Regions from separate parts of the Homo sapiens genome. Here region 2 is linked to region 1. The links are contacts of gene promoters, found by promoter capture Hi-C in blood cells and fetal thymus (Javierre and others, 2016). All regions are on one chromosome and are shown on one strand. Each heading gives the region's core, a stretch centred on a gene start or on the middle of the fragment in contact. The rest is flanking DNA. Distances are from core to core; before and after follow the strand shown.

Region 1 (5,537 bases), core at 776-3,275:
CTTAGGCTGTTTTTCGAGGAAAGGGTCTGCAGGCTGGCTTTGCCTGGGGTCTCCTGAATATCATCTCTGCCCACCAGGCATCAAAAGCCATGCACTTTTCCTCTTCTCTGCTCTGGTTGTGAATAAGTGACACAGATCTCTACACTGTCATTCATAGCATCGGTGAGAAACGGCCATCAGAAAAATATTTGGAGAAAAAGTTCAGCAGAAAGGGCCCAGCCATTAGGGGTCTTTTTTTCTCTGTCATAGTCACTAGTGTGCATACATGAGTCTGGAGCCATGGCGAGTTTGTGCTAGGTGTTGGGCACCTCTCAGGGCAGTCCTGATGCCTGGTGTTTCCTGGGCTTCTCTGCATTCTTTGCCCTTTCTAGTGTCAGAGCCTTTAGAAGTGATGTGATCAGAGAGGATTGGGAGTAGGGGACTCGTGGGCTGACCTGGAACTAGGCCTCGCCACACACTGGAGAAGGCATTCTGGACTGTGGTACATGTATTCAGAGCAGTCTCATTTCTATCAAGAAGTTGATGCCCTCTGTTGACTTTCTAACTACAAATACCCTGGGCAGGCCATTTCCCCTTCTCCCAAGAGTAGGTCTGATAACTAAAGAGCCAACGAATCCAAACAACTCCTGCTTCAGTCAGGAATCAGCCCTGAGACTAGAGCGCCTGTCAACATACTCAGCCCTCTAGATTCTGTTTCTTTCCCCTGCCTGCCTTCCCAAGAGGTTCCCAGGGCTCTGGAGGCAGCTCCAGCCTATGTGGCTGGTAGTGGCAAGGCCATCCACAGCAGCATTACTTAAGCAAGGCAGGTGGAAGGTGGATGTTCAATGAGCACAGAGGCTCTGGGGACAGAAGAACCAAGGGCAGAGCAGCAGCAGGAATTCCAAGGAGCTCCAGAGCTGGAGGGGAGGAGAGAGGCAGAAGTCATTCTCCTGCATGGGCTGTCAGGCCTAACTCCTAAAGAACTGGCCCGCAGTCCGCCTAGTGCATCCTCACACCAGCCTCGGAGACAGCTTGCCATCCAGGACCCTGAGGTTCTCTGGCTTTTCAGGGGCTTATTTAACCTCCATTATCATCCCTCTGTACTCCATTCACATTGTGTTCTGTCGTCTGGAGAACAGAGAGGCCCGGATCCTGCTTTCCACAATCACTCTATAAACAGTCACTTTATTTTACCAATCTACAACTTACAAATTTACCCAGAAAGTGTGTAGGACAAGTAAAATTGATGGATAAGTTCAAGTGGAGACAGCAGGTTTCAAATCTTACCCTATCCAAACCTGCGTTCCTTTTACGCCTTTCATGCCTTCCATCTATAGGAGGCTGGGAGAAAGTCTCAAGAAAGGAGAAACTGAGGCTGTAAATTGTGCAAGGCCACACAGGGAGCTCCCCATCTAAAAGTCTGACTCAGCCCAAAGGTTTCCCAGCGTCCCCTGTGCCCTGCAGTGTGCTGTGGGGGGGAGCAGGCCTCTGCTACCCATGAGTCAGCCCTGAGGCTCTGGCCGCCTTCCTCCAGGGTATCTTCCAATCTTGCTCTACACCCGTTAGGGAGTGGCTGGGAGGAAAAAGACTCCCAGGGGTGACGGAAGCACCCACAGGCCTGCACAGGGAGTGAAACTGGGGCAATCACGGGGCTGCGCGTTGCCACGGGACTGCGCGTTGCCACGGGACGCCGGTGCCACTGCGGGGAAGCGACGGCAGCCATGGGGGAGAGGGTCGGGTTCGCTGACCTCGTTCGGGGGAGCAATGGGCGCCCCCCGGCGGGCAGGCCCTTGTGGCAAGGAGGCCAAGGTGCCGGGGGACCCGGGGACCCGGGTCGGGCGCGCGTTACCTCCTCCGCGCTGCAGCAGCGAGCTCGGGTTCGCCTGCTGGTCTGAGAGCGTACCCTGTGCGGCGCGCCGCTTCTCCGAGTGCACGATCAGCAGCATGTCGATAGATACAGCGTTGATGTCCTTCTTCAGCTCCATGATGCCGCCTCCTTTCCGACCTGGGCGCCGCGGCCGCACGCTAGGCTGCTTGCGCTGCAAATGGCCCCGTGCGCGCAGCTGCCCCACACGGGAGAGGGCGAGGGCGCGGAAGAGGGCGCTCCCCCGCCGCTGGAGCCGCAGGGCGCTGCTTTTCGCTGACTCTGCCAAACACGCCATTAGGGCCCGCCTGGGAGGGCGCTACCCTAATGAAGCGGCTCTAAGTCACCTTTGAAAGGAAATCCCCGGGCCCAAGCCTTGACCTGCACCGGGGCCATAGTCAGCAGGGGCGGCCGGTCCAGAGCCTCCCTCCCTGCGCCCCTGCCTCCCGCCCGGTGCACTTGAAGCGCTGGTCCTGGGCTCCAGGGCTTCTCTGGCTGAGCGCTGCCTCATCCCCACGGTCTCCGGAGGGTTCTCGAGAGGGCTGGAGCCGACCTCCCACGAGAAGCCCCTGGCAAATACAGAAATCGCACAGTGCTGTCAACATTGAGAGTAGATTCAGGAAAAGGAAAGACAGCAAAGGGGCTCCAGATTGAATTGCAAGATGTGCAGAGATTGTCCAAGTTTTGGCCTCGACCTCACTCCTTCCCTGGGTTGGTTTTGGAGGTTGACAGCTCTCTCTCCCTAGGAGGGAGTTGGGTGGGGTGTTGGAGTCAGGAGCTCCCCCCAGTTACGGCCCCTGTAGAACTTGGAACATGCCCATTGAGTATCAAGCTAACGATCCTCTTTGATCTGAAACGAAAGTCTTAAAGTCTCGGTTCGTTCTAGAAGCCTGGCTCCTGCCCTGTGGGGAAGGAGGGAGGGGGAGAGGAGGAGGCTGGGGCACAGGGAGCTGGACCTGAGAAGCCTTCTATTTTTAGCCCGGCCTGGCCTGCCCAGCCAACAGCAGCAGGGGTTTGGCTGTAGGTCTCAGGAGTGTTTACATAGGCTTCTGCCTGGTACCCCTGGGCACTACGGGCCCACCCTGCTGGGGGCGTTCCCCTAATTCGAGTTTCTACTGTTAATAAATGCACCCCCACATGGAGGCCTTTGCTCTGGGAGCCCTCCCCGCATTGGAGTGTATGGACCCCACCTTGTAGCATGGTCCTGAGAGTTCCCAGATCCTCCTTGGAGCAGCCTGTGTCACACAGACTGCATTCCAGTACCAGCTCCATCACTTCCTGGCTGTGTGACCTTGGACCAGCCATTTTCCCTCCACCTTCTCACCCTTATCACTGGGTTGATAAAAATTTCTCACATGGCTGTTGTGAGAATGGCATGAATGTAAGGCGCCTGGTGTATAGAAAGTGGTCTTCATATGGTAGCTGTCATTCTTACTTCATTTTAAGGGTGAGGAAAGGGAAAGATGGAGTGACAAGTGACTGATGGAGCAGAGAAGCAGGAGAGATGTCACAGCCACACTCTGAGATTCTGAAGGTCTTCCTCCAATAACAGTGGCTCAGAGTTTGGTTCCGTGTAAAGGCTGTTGTCTTATTGCATTACCAGCGCCCCCCCCCACCACCCCACCCCCTGACTCACCCACTGGGCATCTGATGGAAGGAGAGGTTGTTGGCTTCCAGTAATGTTGAACTGGAGTCCCTAGAGAGCTGAGGCCATAGACAGGCAAGTGGAGATGGCTGACTTCCAAGGCAGGTTTCCTTCTGCTAAAGTGAGTCTTGTCCTGTCTGTATGTGTGCAGGTACACACACACACACACACACGCGCGCGCGCACACCTGGGAGGCTGGCTAACACTTACTCTCTATGTGGCTGGGGAAGTAAGAACTATGCATTATGCAAAGCTCTTGGGGTGTTGGAGATTGCTGAGGCAGATCTCAGGTCCCAGAGTCCCCCCAACTACCCTGGGCCAGTCAGTGTTGTCTAACTCCTTCAAGTGTCAGGTTGTCTGAAGTGCTGAAATCAACTAGAAGCCTGTGTACAGCACCCTTGGTTGCCGGATGGGTCTGAGTGTTGGTGATGGTGGGGGGAGCTGAAGTCCCCTTTCCTTACACTTGCATTCCCATCTCCCAACCCTTGCTCTCCTGCTGGAAAGTGTCATTGCTAGGAACTCGCAAACTCTGGTGCCCCCTCCCAGAACTGCCTCTGGAGAAGGATATTCTGACCTGGGAATGTGCTGCCAGGGGTCTGGGGAAATGGTGTGGAGGCCTCCTGTCTCTCTGCTATGTCTGAAGACAGCTTCGGAGCAGGGCCTCTCATCCTTGGCGCTATTGACATTTTGAGCCAGATAATTCTCTTTGGTGGGGCTTTCCTGTACACTGTGGGATGTCTAGCAGCATCCCTGGCCTCTACGCATTAGATGCCAATCACATTCACTTCCCTATTGTGAGAACTTAGAATGTCTCCAGACATTGACCAATGTTTCCTTTGGAAAGAATTGCAGTGTGAACACCGCTTTGGAGCAAACTCCTGAAATTGGAGTCACCTCGACTGCTCTGGGAGATGCTGCTGCCCCTGGATCCTGATGGTGCCTGACACCTAGACCCTCTTCTCAGAGGTTTACCCATGGCCATCAGTCCAACAGCCTAGCTTCTGGGGCCTGCCAGGAGCATAGATGAGATGCTCTTCTTAATGCCAACTCTATTCCCATCCTTGGCCTGGGTTGACTTAGCTGCTTCCCCTCTTCCCCACTATCCATTCTTGGGCTGAGAGGGAGACACCATGGGGAAGGTGATGTGGCTGAAGGCATTTGGATGTATCAGGAAAGGGGAAGGAGAGACAAGAGAACACTGAGGTGGCTGGGATATCATTCAAGTAGAGGCTGTATCCCTTCTGCTCAAATCCTCCCTCCAGCTGCTCACACAATCAACGGGACAAATAACAGAACGCTCAGCCTGCAAATCTCCAGACCCATCTCTTCCTTTTTCCCTACCAAACCCACACATGCTTCAACAGAAACCATGTCCTCTACACCCCAAACACACCATACTAGCCCCTCCATCCTGCTACCATCTTGAATAAAAAAGATGCAAGGCTCTCTGTATTCCGACCTAAATAATTAATCTGCATCCTTGTCTTAGTAGCTGACAAACCAGGGGCTTTCTCCATTCTTGAGCAAAACTTTATTTTAATCAAAATGAGTGGGAATTCCAGGATACAGAAAGACAAAGGACAGTCAAAATAGTTGTATTGTCACCTTTGTCAAATTCAACACTTAGACACATCCAGCTGTCAGCAGCCCTGCATCCGATACTCCTCTGCTAGAAGGTGAGATTTGTCAGTTGTCTGAATGGTTCTGGGCCCTGAGTTGGTTCTGCTGTCTTGGAGATAAGGAGGGTTCACCAGGGGCAGGGCTTGCTCCTGGCAGTTGAAGCTGTCACCAGAGAGGAGTGTGTTTTGACCCCCACTGTTTTCCCTCAGAAATGGTAGTTTTGCTGGGACCATCAGTCATAGCTGTTTTTACCACTCTTGGGATTCCAAGAGGCAAGTTTCTCTCTTCTCTATAGAGATAGAGTAAGTAAGCCAATGCAATAAAGGCTTTTGGCAGGGAATTTTCTCCATTGATGACGTGGGGAAGAGGCACACAGAGAGTTCTGTGAGTTGGTGAAGAGTAACAGACCAAGTTCCAGTCTCCTAACTC
Region 2 (5,537 bases), core at 1,607-4,106, 170 kb after region 1:
ATAGTGGATTGATGCTGATAGAAAAGGCAGGGCATAGGAATTCTCTTCTCAACAGGCTTCCCTGTCCTGGGCCAGAATCATCCGAAATGGGGAACCTGCAGAAAAGCCTTCTTCAGTGACTTGTGCCTCTCTGTCTTGGACTTCCTGGCTCTAGAAAGCCCAGGAGGAGTTCCTGTGAGGGAAGGCTCTGCATCTTGTTGCGTCCCAAGTCCCAGGGTCCAGTTGCCATTGCAGACGAAGCTTCATTCAGAGGAAAGCAAGTGCATCTTGTGGTGGTCTGGACCAGCTCTTCACAGACGGTCTTCTTTGGTGTCACCACTCGGTGTGTGGCCTTTGGGCCAGGGCTTGGGTTCCCATGGGAGTTTGTTAGAAATGCAGACCCTCAGACCTCACCTCAAAACAACTAAATTCAGTTGTGCCTGGATCGAGAGTCCCAGTCTCTAAACTTCTGCATCAGGGAAGCAGCCTCTTTAAATAAATTAACAAGCTTATTTTGAGCAATTTTTAAAAAGAGCTATCCTAGATTAAAGAATACTTAAGATTCATGACAAGTTAATGTAACAAACCCTATACTAAGAAATTGCTTTAAAGGATATGATTTGGACAACAAACAAAATTGGAATATAGCCTTCCAAAATTCAGGGAGTGGGTCTCCTTAGATGAAAGTATTATAACAAAATGTTAATATTTCCAAATTTGTAACTGCATTGTGGTCAAATAAGAGAATATTCTTGTTCTTAGGAAACAAATATTGAGGAATTAAGGAGTAAATGGCCATGATGTATGCTACCTGCTCTCAGGTGGCTCAAGGAGGAAAATAAACAGATGAATGTGTGTATATAATATAATAAATGTGTATATAATAAAATATATATGTAATATCATATTATGATATATCCTATTGTACCATAAAATATATGTGGTGAGGAAAGAGAAGATGAAAAAGCAAATGTGGCAAAATGTTAAAAATTGGTGAATCAGGGTAAAAGGAATATGGGGGTTTCTGGTTCCATTCATGCAACTTTCTTGTGTGATTGCTATTTCTTTAAAATAAAAAGTTTAAGAAAACAGTGCGCCTTGTTTCAAAGTTTGATGGATGTTGCAAGTTGCCCTCTAAAAAGGCTGAACCAATTTATATTCCCACAATGCTGTGGAGGGTTGGTGCAGCTGTTTAATGTAGCTATTTTTATTCAGCTATTTTGATGCCAGGGACTTTCTTTGATGGGGTCATATATCAGTTTTGACCTGGGGACATTTTGTTGTTTTCCAAATTTATTATGAATATTTCCAAAAGTATAGAAAAGTCAAAAGTATGCTGAAGTGAACACCCATGCCACAGCCCCTGCCCCTAGTTTCAACAGTTGTTGTTATTGTGCCATATTTATTTATCAGCACACATTTGTTTTTTGGGGGGCATGGAAATTGGGATGCAGAAAGATTAAGTAACCACCAAAGGTAAATGCTGGGGCCACACGCCGTGTCCTCTGCACGTTGTCCTTCTGCCTCTGAGGTACTTTTTTTCTTTTTTCTTTTTCTGTTTCTGTTTTTTTTTTTTTTTTTGAGACAGAGTCTTGCTCTGTCACCCAGGCTGGAGTGCAATGGTGTGATCTCGGCTCACTGCAATCTCCACGTCTTGGGTTCAAGCGATTCTCATGCCTCAGCCTCCCGAGTAGCTGGGATTATAGGCACACACCACCACAGCCAGCTAATTTTTTTGTTTTTTTTGTATTTTTAGTAGAGACGGGGTTTCACCATGTTGGCCAGGCTGGTTTCGAACTCCTGACCTCAAATGCTCCGCCCACCTCGCCTCCCAAAGTGCTGGGATTACAGGTGTGAGCCACCGTGCCTGGCTGGATTTTTTTCCTGAAGCAGTTGAGTGTTGGATTCAGACAGGTCTGGATTTGAATTCCACCTCTGACACTGAACAAACTACATAACCTCCCAGTTATGGCCTCTGTGTGTTCGTCCCGTAAGTGGGGATGGTGGTACTCACCTCACATGATCGTTGTGAGATAGATGAGATAAGGTGTTTAAAGCCCGTGGTAGTTATTAGTATTGTCATTTCTTCTGTATCTCTCTTTTCATTTGAAACAGATTCCCAGGCACCCTCCTCTGGGAAAATTGATCCCTAAATCATTCTTCTGCTTGCCAATACCTTGTCTGGCCCATCTATTGCTGGTGTGTAGTCCTTGCCTACTCCCATAGACTTGGAGGGCCAATGTTCTAAGCAGCTTAGAAAAGCTGATATTCAGGCACGTGTGCTGGGGCGATGTTCAGTAACCTGACATGACGTATCATGGCCAAGAGTCGCAGGCGTCTCAGTGGTTAGGCAGCAGGGCTTCCTGGGGCACTCACCCTCAGTGTGAGCAGGTCTGGACGAATTCCTAGCAGACCCAGCAGAGCAAGGAAAGGGCCTGTGGACCACTGCTGCCTTCTCTGCCGTCTCCAGGACTTCCTCCCATCTCACCAGGATTCCAGTTTGTGGGAAAAGGGAGGAACAGGGACTAGGGTAAGAAGAAGGAGGCAGCCACTTGGAGCAAAGTTTAAGGGGGCACTAAAGATTAATCAAGGTAAGTAATATATGAATGTAGTTTTTTTTTTAAATCAAATTCTGTAAACCATGGACTATGGGCTGCCTGTTTTTGTAAATAAAAATAAAGTTTGAAGGCCCCAGTCAGCCCATTCCCCTCTCTGTGGCCCCAGGAATTGGGGGGCACTGGACAGTGTACTCACTGACATTTTCTCTCCTCTGTAGAACAATGTCAGTATTGCCTGCAATTCTAGTCGTCACAGCTCCTTCACCGTTTAGAGGGCCGGGTGCCATGGCTCACCCAGCACCTGGTTCTCAGGCTTCTGGCCAGCGTGGCAGAGCTGAGGCCATGTGGAGGGCTGGAAGTGGGTGGCACACTTCCCTGTCCTGGCAGAGGAGTGCACATGGAGCTCTGTAGTTTCTGTCCCCACCGTGGCCTTAGACCTGAAGGTATGAATCCATGCAAGAGGCTGCTATTGGGAGTCAGAGAACTGGCTCACATTTACCAGCTGCGTGACCTTGGAAAGCCACCTAATCTCTCTGAAGTTTCATTCTCAGTTTCATTACCTGTCCATTGGGGATGATGTGGTCCAACCTCTTTCTCTTTGAGCTCTTCAGTAAGAGGTTGTTGAGTAGGAATCAGAGCCCATGTATGGGAAATGCTTTGTAAACTGGGATGTGCTCTGGAAACACAAGCTGTTCTTATAATGGTGGTTACGATTGATTCTGGTGGACAGCTCCTGGCCCAAGCCTGGTGGAATGGTCATCCATAGAGGGAAATGAGATCCAATATCCCAAGCCCCTGCCCAGAGGGGGAAAGCGCAATGACTGGCGGTCGGGAGAACTGTCTGCCACATGCAGCCAGGTTCACAGACACCTCTTGAGGTCCTGTGCCTATGTTCCTACCCACTCTTCAAACAGGTGGCTTCTTAATGCTTTTCCCCGCCCCACTCCTGGCTCAGCTTGTGGAGTTCTCCATTCCACTGACTTTCCTAAGAGCCATGTGGAGAGGAAAGATGTGAAGAGGGAAGGCATGTCCAGGTACTGGGATAGGCCCCTTAGGTGACCATCTCACACTCCTAGGTGATTGTAAGGCAATGACTGGGGAATTCACTTTCTCTACCCTACTTTCATTTAACCCTTCATTCAACAAGAAGAGAAACCTACAGCCAGCTCTTGGATAATGAGGTTGAAAGTCCTTGGAACCCTGTTTAAGAGGCTGACAGGCAGGCAGCCTCCTTGGCTTAGGATGTATGACCTTATGGTATGTCCATGCTGCTGGGGACAGTCATAGTGTTTCTTTTTAAAATTTTATTTGTCCATAAGTAATTGGGGTACAGGTAGTATTTGGTTACATGGGTAAGTTCTTCAGTGGTGATTTGTGAGATTTTGGTGCACCCATCACCCAAGCAGTATACACTGCACCATATTTGTAGTCTTTTATCCCTTGCCCCCCTTCAACTCTTCCCTCTCTTACCCCAAAGTCCCCAAAATCCATTGTATCCTTGTTATGCCTTTGCATCCTCATAGCTTAGCTCCCACGTATCAGTTTCCATTCCTGAGTTACTTCACTTAGAATAATAGTCTCCAGTCTCATCCAGATCACTGCAAATGCCGTTAATTCATTCCTTTTTATGGCTGAGTAGTATTTCATATTCTATCCTATATACTATATATCTATCACAGTTTCTTTATCCACTCCTTAATTGGTGGACGTTTGGGTTGGTTCCACGATTTTGGAATTCTGAATTGTGCTGCTATAAACATGCACGTGCAAGTGTTTCTTTCAAATAATGACTTTTCTCTCTGGGTCTCTTGAGAGCCCTCCAAGCATCTGGCCCCTCCCCTTTCAGGACTGTGTTTCGAGGTGAGCAGAGAAGATGAACAGAGGCTGAGGGCAGCCTGGCTGGAAACAGGAGGTGGAGGCAGGAGGTGGGAGCTGATTCAATCTTCAGACTATAATGCAAAGGTTAGTAGCCAGTTTATGAGTGAAGGGGGCCGTTTAGGCAGGATAGAAAGGGGTCTAAACATGAGTTATAAGACAAGATAATGTTTTGGCAGGTGGGATTTTTGCTGTATGCAGAGGTGAACTTCTGAGCATAGAGAAATGGACGTTAGGTAGGCATAAACACACCTCTGTCTAATCACTATCACTTCCATAATCAGTCGGAGCTTCTGTTTGATGTGTGTCCTCCCTCTCCCTATGCCTTAGGGGATGGCAGCCTCCCATTTGTGCATAGGTGTCTTTCACGGGGCCAGCAGGCAGTATGGGTTCCCTGCTAGTGAATTCCCATTTCCTACGAGGGAGGCAGAAGGGTGCCCATGTGGTGATCTCCCAGACCAGGTTCTCATCTCCACTTGACCAGTCTGTAGGTGTAAGCCTTGGAAGTAGCTCCTCTATAAAATGGGAATGAATCATATCCCATTATAGGGGCTTTGGAATGAGTAAATGAGATAACATAGATGGATTGCCTGGTACAGACAAGGCTTGGTATGTAGCAGACACTCAATAAATGTTTCCTCCCTTCTCTGTGCCTCTTCTCTCCCTTCTCAATGCAGCAGTGTGGGGTTCTGCTTGGAGCAGCTGAGTCCCTACCCTGCACATCCCTGTGCCTCCCCAGGCTGCTCAGACACTGCCCTTGCAGCTTCTTTTTGTGGGAAAGGTAGTTGCCCTTGGATCTTGTGTTCCCACAGCCAAAGCTTCTCTCACTTTTGTCTGCCTGGGAGGCCTCTGTTGCCTTCTTTTCTAGCCCGGTCTTGCCTACAGATGCCCCATCCCATACTTCTTGCTCTTCTGCCTTGCTTGGGTGGGCCCAGCGCAGGGGACACATGGACACCTGTCATGCCAATTTCTGATTTAATCAGTGTCAGCTAATTGCTGTAACACCTGATTCCAAATTTTTTAGCCCACAAGATAAAAGTTTATTTCTCACTCATATCACAGTCTGGTGAGGCCCGTGGTGGGGTTCTGTCCCCTTCCCCTCCCCTCACCCACCCCTCCTGTCAT

What was found. The method cuts DNA at HindIII sites, captures the fragments that hold promoters and counts their contacts. A CHiCAGO score of 5 or more calls a contact.
Region 2: a contact is called between a fragment that was not itself captured here and the fragment with the promoter of KY in region 1, in 1 of 17 cell types (neutrophils). The highest score is 5.3, in neutrophils.

Annotation. Positions count from the first base shown.
Region 1 is chr3:134,648,997-134,654,533 of GRCh38, forward strand. It overlaps KY (kyphoscoliosis peptidase), which reads right to left and starts at 2,026. Exons shown (of 11, transcript NM_178554.6): 1 at 1,829-2,026. The coding sequence starts at 1,964. It also overlaps a transcript of CEP63 not described here. The HindIII fragment of the contact is 8,919 bases long and covers 1-5,537 here.
Region 2 is chr3:134,814,541-134,820,077 of GRCh38, forward strand. All of the region lies in intron 1 of EPHB1 (EPH receptor B1), which reads left to right. Among named protein-coding and RNA genes, the nearest start is that of EPHB1, 22 kb to the left of the region's middle. The HindIII fragment of the contact is 4,743 bases long and covers 486-5,228 here.